Linked DNA regions of Homo sapiens: region 1 is linked to region 2. Evidence: promoter capture Hi-C in 16 types of primary human blood cells and fetal thymus (Javierre and others, 2016). All regions are on one chromosome and are shown on one strand. The core of a region is centred on a gene start or on the middle of the fragment in contact, and the rest is flanking DNA. Distances in the headings are between cores, read along the strand shown.

What was found. Contacts are between HindIII fragments. The CHiCAGO score rates a contact against its expected background, and 5 or more counts as called.
Region 1: a fragment that was not itself captured here is called in contact with the fragment with the promoter of TGM6 in region 2 in 1 of 17 cell types (M1 macrophages); the score reaches 5.1 in M1 macrophages.

What each region holds. Positions count from the first base shown.
Region 1 is chr20:2,186,304-2,190,918 of GRCh38, forward strand. No RefSeq gene overlaps it. Among named protein-coding and RNA genes, the nearest start is that of LINC03086, 18 kb to the right of the region's middle. The HindIII fragment of the contact is 1,813 bases long and covers 358-2,170 here.
Region 2 is chr20:2,379,489-2,383,874 of GRCh38, forward strand. It overlaps TGM6 (transglutaminase 6), which reads left to right and starts at 1,413. Exons shown (of 13, transcript NM_198994.3): 1 at 1,413-1,487. The coding sequence starts at 1,481. The HindIII fragment of the contact is 23,923 bases long and covers 1-4,386 here.

The sequences.
Region 1 (4,615 bases), core at 14-2,513, 190 kb before region 2:
AACAATCTGACACTAAATACAACAAAGATGAAACTTTTAAAGAACAGCTTTATTGACATATAATTCACATACCATATGATAGACCTACTTCGATGGTTTTAAGTGTATTCACAAAGTTGTGCGACCATTACTCCAGACAATTTTAGAATATTTTCATCACTACGGAAATAATTTACCATTAACAGTAGCTTGCCACTTCCTCTCAACTTCCCCAACCCTAGGCAGCCATTAAATTGCTTTCTGTCTGCATAGATTTGCCTATTTTGAACATTTTGTATAATGGAATCATATGACATGTGGCCTTTTCTTGCTGGCTTCTTTCGCTTAGCATAATATTTTCAAGTTCATCCATGTTGAAGCTTATATCAGTATTTCATTCCTTTTTATTGCTAAATAAGATTCCATTGTATGGGTATATCACATTTTATTTATCCATTAATCACTTGATGGACTTTCAGGTTGTTCCCACTTATTTAGGATTCCAGGTTTATCTCTTAAATTGTTTTCTAAATTTCATTTTTAGATTGTTTGTTGCTGGCATATAGAAATACAATTGATTTTTGTATATTTACCTTGTATCCTGCATAGTTGCTGACTTGTTCATTTATTATAATAGTTTTGAGTGATTTTTAAAGGTTTTCTCTATACAAAATTATGTCATGTTTAGTAAAAATAGTTTTACTTCTTCCTCTCCAAGTTAAATGTCTGTATTTATTTTTCTTGCCTGTTTTTTCTGGTTATAACCTCCAGAATAGAAGTGGCAAATATCCTGCGTTAGTTTGCTAAGGATAAAACAAACACAAAAAACAACAAAAAAAGAAGTGGCAAATAGAAGTGTTGAGAATGGACATCTTTTTCTTGTTCTTGATCTTAAGGGGAAAGTATTCAGTTTTTCATCATTATGAATGATGGTAAATGTGGGTTTTTGATAGAGGCCCTTTATCAAGTTGAGAAAATTCTTTTGTGTTTCTAGCTTGTTGATGTTTTAAAATCATAGAAGTGTTGTATTTTCCCAAATGCTTTTCTGCCTCTGTTGAAATGACCATGTTGTTTTTCTCCTTTGTTCTATTAATATTGTATATTACATGAATTGATTTTTGGATGTTAAACCAGCCTTGCATTCCTGGGATAAATCCCACTTGGTTGTGGTTTATAATACTTTCTATATGTTGCTAGACTTGATTTACAGGAATTTTGTTGAAGATTATTGCATCTATATTTATGAGAGATATTGATCTGTAACTTTCTTGTAATGTCTTTGCCTGATTTTAGTATCAGGGTAATATTGGTTTCATAGGAGTTGGGAAGTGTTCTCTCTTTCTATATTTTTTTGAAGAGTTTGTGAGAGATTGATGTTAATTCTTCCTTAAACATTTGATAGAGTTTACCAAGCCATCTGAGCCAGAACTTTTCTTTGTGATAAGTTTTCTGATTCAGTATCTTTACTTGTTATAGATCTATCAGATTTTCTATTTTTTCTTGAGACGGTTTTGATGGTTGTTTCTTTTTAGGAGTCTGTGTGTTTCATCTAGTTTACCTAATTTGTTGGTATATAATTGTTAACAATATTCCTTTTTAGATTTTGTAATGTCCCCCCTTTGATTCCTCATTTTAGTAATGTGAGTTTTTCTCTCTCTTTTTTGTTTTTTGATCAATCTAGCTAAAAGTTTATCAATGCTGTTCATCTTTCCAAGAACTAGTTTGGGTTTTGTTGGGTTTTTCTCTATTGTTTTTCTGTCTATTTCACTTCTTTCTACTCTATATTTACTATTTCTTTCATTTAGCTTTAGTTTGCTCTTCTTTTTCTTGTTTCTTAAAGTGGAACATGGGGCTGTTGATTTGAGGTTTTTCTTCTTTTTGAATATACATGTTAACAGCTATAAATTTCAATCTGAGTGCTGCTTTAGAGTGTTTTGTTGCTTTTCCACATATTTATATAATTCTTTGCATGTCTCACAATTTTTTTTTTACCTTTCCTATGGTACTGAACAATTTTTTTGAAAAGTGGACATTTTAGATAATATGTTGTAGCAACTCTGAATACCAGTTCTCCATGCTCCCACAGATTTGTTGTTTGCTTGTTTATTTGGTTAGTAACTTTGCTAGAGCAATCCAGCACTCTTTCTATGTATTCAATATTTCTCCCAATATGAAAGGACAAGAGAAATAAAGCTTTCTTCCATAATAAATATTCTTTTTATATTTCAGGAAAGTCTATTTCCCTCACAGGGTGCAGCATCTGATGTTGTTCCTCAAAGAGCTCAGCCTTGGGCATGAGCACAGCCTCTCTAGGATGCCACTGGTTTTAGCAGGGCTCTCTTTGACTGTCTTTTTCCTTTATCTCTGTTATGCTGTCTGCCTCTGTTGGTATCATACCTAGATATTAGCTTCTACCAATTGATGGTTGATTGTTCTATTGTTTTTGACAGTGCTGTGAGGCAAAAATTGCTCTACAATAGGATTCTGTGATATTTGGGCCCCTTTACAGGGGTAGTCTTTAAGGCCAGTTTTTGAGTCTTGTTCTGATCCCAAAGAGCTTTTCTTAACTGTCTCTTTCCCTGATTATTCGTGTTAAACTACTAGATGGTTTAGGTTTAGCTTCTTTTTTTCAAGAAGCTACTTGTCTCCTCGTAATTTCTTACCACCAAAAGATCCATTGTTTAATTACCACCAGTTACCTCTCCTTGCCCCACATTCATATTTTGTTCATATCATTTGATTTGAACTTCCCTCTACACTCTGTTCACAATAAAGCCTGTTCCCCTAGGGGAGAACATTGAAGCTCTCTGTTCTGAAGGCCTCTCTCTCCCTCTAGACAAAATCTCTACACCACTGCTTCAGAGCTAGGGGTAAAGACAGCAGCCTCTTCCTCTTGCAGCAATATCCAGACTTTACAAGTAGTGTGCTTGTGGTGGTGGTTGTCTCTGGTCTGCTCAGTTTGCCTCTCTCAGTGCAGAACTTCTCCCTTATGAGCAACATGAAACGAGGGCAATCAGGGTCCCAGTATTCTCAGACTGACAAGTCTCGGGTAGAGCTCCTACCCTGTGAGTGAGCGGGGACTGGGTAGAGAAAGGAACTCCAGATCTCTCAGCTGCTCTTGCCTGGAATTTAGCTTCTACAACATAGAGCTAGGGGAATAAGTGTTTCTGGTAACCTGCAATATTCCTGCCCTCTGGGGGAAGAGGAAATCCTATGTTCTTGTCTGCACCCACCTGTGGCAGAGCTTCATCGTGCTGAGCTGGGGGAAGCGGAAAGGAACAGGCTATGGCTCAGATACCCCAGATGCATGCTATTCTTACCATGAAATGTTTCTTTATTTGCTATATGCCTTTCTTCTTCTTCTTTTTTTTTTTTTCCTAGAGTGAGTGATAGAGTGATGGAGTCTCACTCTGTCGCCCAGGCTGGAATGCAGTGGCATGATCTCGGCTCACTGCAACCTCCGCCTCCCAGGTTCAAGAGATTCTCCTGCCTCAGCCTCCCAAGTAGCTGAGATTACACAGGTGTGTGCCACCACACCCAGCTAATTTTTGTATTTTTAGTAGAGATGGGGTTTCACCATGTTGGTCAGTCTGGTCTCAAACTCTTGACCTCACGTAATCTGCCTGCCTCGGCCTCCCACAGTGCTGGGATTACAGGCATGAGCCACCGTGCCTGCTCTATTTGCTATATATCTTTAAGACAGTTTCCAGAGACTATAAATGCTTCTTTTTAAAAATAATTTTTACAAGGTACAGTTTTTTTCACCAGGGAAATATCTACACAGCTCCTCAGACGGCTATTCCAGAAATTGTTTCAAAGATGGGACTCAGATCTTTTAATTAGCCAACCCTGCCTACTGACTTCTTCAATTTCTTGTTATGTGAGGTTAAAAAAAATTCCTGACTGGGCACAGTGGCTCTCACCTGTAATCCCAGCACTTTGGGAGGCCGAGGCGGGTGGATTATGCGGTCAAGAAATCGAGACCATCCTGGCCAACATGGTGAAACCCTGTCTCTGCTAAAAATATAAATATTAGCCAGGCATGGTGGCATGCGCCTGTAGTCCCAGCTACTCGAGAGGCGGAGTGAGGAGAATCGCTTGAACCCGGGAGGCGGAGGTTGCAGTGAGCCAAGATTGTGCCATGCACTCCAGCCTGGCAACAGAGGGACACTCCATCTCAAAAAACAAACAGACAAACAAAACAAAACAAAACAAAACAAAACAAAAAATTAGCTGAGCATGGTGGTGGACGCCTGTAATCCTAGCTACTTGGGAGGCTGAGGCAGGAGAATCGCTTGAACCCAGGAGGTGGAGGTTGCAGTAAGCAGAAATCACACCACTGCACTCCAGCCTGAGTGACAGAGCGAGACTCTGTTTCAACAAAATAAGTAAGTAAATAAACATTAAAATTTTTTTTTAAAATCCTTATTGTACATTTCTGTTGCTCATGGCCAATAGCGTCCTGATTGATCCTAACTTAATGAGGACTGAACCAAGGCCAGCAGAGTTTTTTTCCATCTAGAAAGGTGACAGCAGGTAAGGCCTAGCCTAAAAGATATTCATTCACAACACCTGTGACACTTTAGTGCTCCATTTTTCTGTTTATTGGCATATCTCTTCTACTAGACTGTGGTCT
Region 2 (4,386 bases), core at 163-2,662:
GTGATTTTGATGCCCTGTCTTCTGGGAGCTCCCGTCCAAGCAAGCCCAGGATGAAAGATAAAAGGGCCCTGAATAAGACCATCATTAGTGGGGAGGAGCCTGACCCTGCATAGGCAGAAAAGCAGCTTCAGCAGGGCCCAGGGTCTACAGGGCAGCAGCCTGCAGGGTGTTGAGGAAGGAGCTGCCCTGGGCTGCTGCCAGATGTCAGTAATTATAAGGCTATGTGGGTCTGCAGACAGCTCATTAAAGACGCTTGATCTGCGTGAAACCAGGAAGCAGAACTCAGCCTCTTTGCCACTTTCTGTAAGAAATCCAACCACATCAAACACTTTGGGGTTTTTATGCAGTTTCCTGAATGTTGGGGTGATCCCAGGGAGCGGCCTCATCCTACTGTGCTCAGCACACGGTTGTCTCCTTACCCTTCCTTGTCTCTTTCCCTCGATTCTACCCCCTCCCACTTCCCCTTCCTCACTGGCCCAGGCCACATCCAGCCTTCGATAGCCCCAAGTCATCCATCAAAGCATTTCTCCGGCAAAAAGAAACCTACCCCACCGGCTTCCATGAAAATAAAATCCCCTCTATTTCATTAACAAAAGACCTCAGATGCCTTGAATTCCAGCACCTTCAAGCCCAGAATCTTAGACTTTGAGCTGGAATGGCCCTGAAGAATAATTGAGTCCAATCCCTTTAGTTTGTAGGTAGAAACACCAGGGTTCCAGGAGGGGAGAGGTCTTGTCCAAGGTCACGGGACACCCATGGCCACCAGGCCTCTAAGCTCCTGGCTGGAGGCCACTCACAAAGTCAGGGCAGATGGGCCTAGCTTCTGAGTCAGAACCAGCTCTCCCCTTTTTCTTATCTACCTCCTCTCAAGAGTCTAGTGTCCACCAAGGAAGTCTAGTGGCCCTGAAGGAGGATCATGGACCTCTGCCTCTTTAGATGCCTGCAGAACAGAGTGGAGCTGTGGGCCCAGGAGTCTTCTGCTCTCACCCAGGAGGGGAGAGGGAGCCACAGACTGACCCGGCACTGCAGCGTGCAACCATGTACTTCGGGGTCCTGGCGCTGAGCCTGTTTTTTCTCATTTGAGGGTTGTTGTGAGGGCTAAGAATGGCCAACCATAAATCCGAGTTCCCTCAGTCTTCTCTCTTTCCCCGTTCTTTTTCTTGCCAGGCTTGTGACCTTTCTGAGCCTCAGTTTCTCCACAGTCCCATTCGCAACTCCGTGTTTCCAAGGTCTCTTGGCAGGAGCCACTCCCACAGTGAACCCCTCTAGGTGCAATTACAGGATGATTTTGTGTCTCGTGGGTGTCGCTGCTAGGGTGGAGGGCCACGCCTCCTCTTTTGAATTCTGACTTTCCTGCCTAGGAGTGTCCCAAGGTTTTCCTTGTTAAAATTGGTCTGGCTGGCTGCTGTGACGCGCCACACTGTCCTGACGGTGCACACACTGCTGTGTGGAGGAACAGAGGAGTCCAGCTGGCCTTCACATGGCAGGTAAGTGGGCAGAGCCTGGGGCCTTGGGACACCAGGGCTCATGAGGGGGGCTTCAAGAAACACGGGTCTGTGGGATGACGTTTGATCATCGATTGTTAGGATTTTACAGCTGGATAGTCCACCATGAACACATGAACTCTTCGTGTGGATTCATGAGGCCCAGGATGAAAAAGCCAGCTTTAAGCCACCCAGCAAGGCCATGGCCCAGGCTGGCTCAGGCGCTGTCTCCTGGGCTGGGGCCAGGTCTCACCCCTGTGCCTCGGAGGACTGAAGGAGGCAGGCACAGGAAGGCAGGGGCAGAAAAAAGAAAATCTCCTTGCACCCCATGCACATTCCATGGATCCAGAGACGTTTCTGGGCATAGTTGGGAATTGTGGCCTGCGTGGGAAGGAGTGAGAGGCCCCCACCGGCTGCATCCTCGCCTGATTCCCACCCCAAGCACTTGAGGGCAAGAGCAGCTCTGGCTCAAGTGAAAACAGCTATATGACCTTGAGCAAGAAAATTTGCCCTTGGTACCTCTGTTTTCTGATCTGTGTAATGGGGATTATAATGCAAATTATCTCACAGCCTTGCTGTGAGGAGTTGGTGAGACCACGTGTGCTGTTCTCCCACCACACATCTCAAGTGGGGACTTGTAAACAGTAGACTCAGAAAATGTGGGTCGGGCACAGTGGCTCACGCCTCTAATCCCAGCATTTTGGGAGGCTGAAGGGGGTGGAATTCTTGAGCTCAGGAGTTTGAGACCAGCCTGGGCAATGTGGCAAAACCCCGTCTCTACAAAAAAATACAACAATTAGCTAGGCATGGTGGGGAACACCCAAAGTCCCAGCTACTTGGGAGGCTGAGGTGAGAGGATCGCTTGAGCTTAGGAGGTAGAGGCTACAGTGAGCCAAGATGGTGCCACTGCACTGCAGGCTGGGCAACAGAGTGAGACCCTGTCTCAAAAAAAAAAGAAAGTAAGATAATGTGTCCCCCACGACCTCAATATAGTGAGCAGCAAACTCCCTCTGCAAGAACTTGTCTTAGATGCTGGGGCCCGGTAATGAGCAAGTCAGCAGAACCAGGGGTCCTACACTCACAGGTATTCAAGGGGTGTTTCTGAGTCTGTGTCTGCCAGTTTTAATTGTTCAGCATTATGTGACAGTTTTATGAATCAAATATTTTTTTAACTTTCAAAGGCAGATATTTGAATTTCCTCATCATAGTCTAGCTTCCTCTTCATATTTCCTCCTGGCAGTTAACAGCATTGCTGGACGTGTTGGGCCCTTCAGGCTCCTAGGATAGGTCTGTTCTGAAGACCAGGCCTTGCCAACACCAGCTCACAGCCCAGACTGCCTGTTTCCAGAGCTGGGGTTGCCTCCCTGATGGCCCTGGTGCAGAGGGGATTGCCTTTGTTCCTCCAAGATCTGCTTCTCAAAGTTCACCTAGATGATCCCTCTTCCCTGGGCCTTTGATAACCTATCAGACTTAAACTTGACAGTGCGAAGGTTAGTTTCTGAGGAAGGAAAAAAGTTGATGATGATGCCCATTGTCAGGTCTGTAACTAACTTGCTGGGTTCCTCTCTCTGAAGCTCTGTTTCTCCGTCTGTGAAATGTCAGCATTGGAGTTGTCATGCCTATGTAAATGGACTATGTGTTGGATTGGATTCAATTCCTGGGTCTTCTGGGTCCTCTTGGCTTCTTGGGAGGATCTGTTCCTCAGAGCAGTAGGTCCTGCCTACCACACACTCTGTGCCTGAATGACTGAGACATCAGATCCTAGATGGAAAGTGTATTCATCTTCCTGGAGCTCCTTCTATCCCCCCTCCCTCACTCCATCCATGGTGGACATCCCTAGTTGACCCCAGAGCTCTTCCCTCTGGAGCCTGGATGTGGCCCCAGAATGCTCAACCCAGCTCTTTAAGTACCAGTTGATCAGTGTTGGCAAAGGAGGTGAGACCCTTTTGCCATGATTAAATTACAATCATCTTTCAGCTCAGAGATTCCAAGAATTGAGTGGAATACTGTATGTGAGGCTGGCTCTGGCTGGGACATTGGGTTGGAGTTGATGAGTCACTGCCTCCTGGTGAAAGAGAGGCCAGCAGCTTCCAACAAGACCAGGAAGGAAAGAGAGATGGGGCAGTGGCCCCAGAAAGGCCCCAGGCAACTCTCGATAAATCATTTAGTCATGGAGTTCAGGTGCTCATGATGCGTACTAAGCATAGGATTATAATGGGGCCCATTAAAAACCAATTATGCTTAGTCCAGAGTCTGGAAGATGCCACTGGCTTCAACAGAGTTTCCAGGGCTCAAGCCCACTGGCCTGAGACAAAGAATTGGGGAGGATTGTATCATTCAGCTCTCTGGTATCACCCAAGGGCAGGAGGAGGAAGATGGATGAGCTAGGCTTGGGGGTGGGGATGGGTGGAGAGCTAAGTCGGCAGGAGGCAATGTTCTGCACATGGACCCTTCCCTTTCTTAGGTGGAGCTCTGGGGCCAGCTGGTGAGCAAATTAGTTGGGGAGGAGGTCAGAGGGCCAGAAGTGATGGGCAGGGCCTGACTGTCAAGGACCTTCAATGCCAACAAGATGGCTGTAGATTCCATGGTGCTTGAGCAGGGAAAATGACATGCTGACACTCAGAAAAGTCCCTTCTCCTCTCTGAACCTCAGTTTCTCCATAGTGATGGGATGGATTGAACAGGTTGAGCTGAAAAACACTCTGAAGCTGTTGGGGCCATACAGTCGCTTAAGCGAGAAGCAAAGAGGGGAGAATAACAAGAAACCCCGTGCATGTAGGAATTGGGGAGGGGAGGACCAAAGTGATGGGGGAGATGTGGGAAAGGAGTGATGATGTAAAAATCCCTGTTTGTAGGCCGGGCGCGGTGGCTCACTCCTGTCATCATAGCACTTTGCGAGGCCA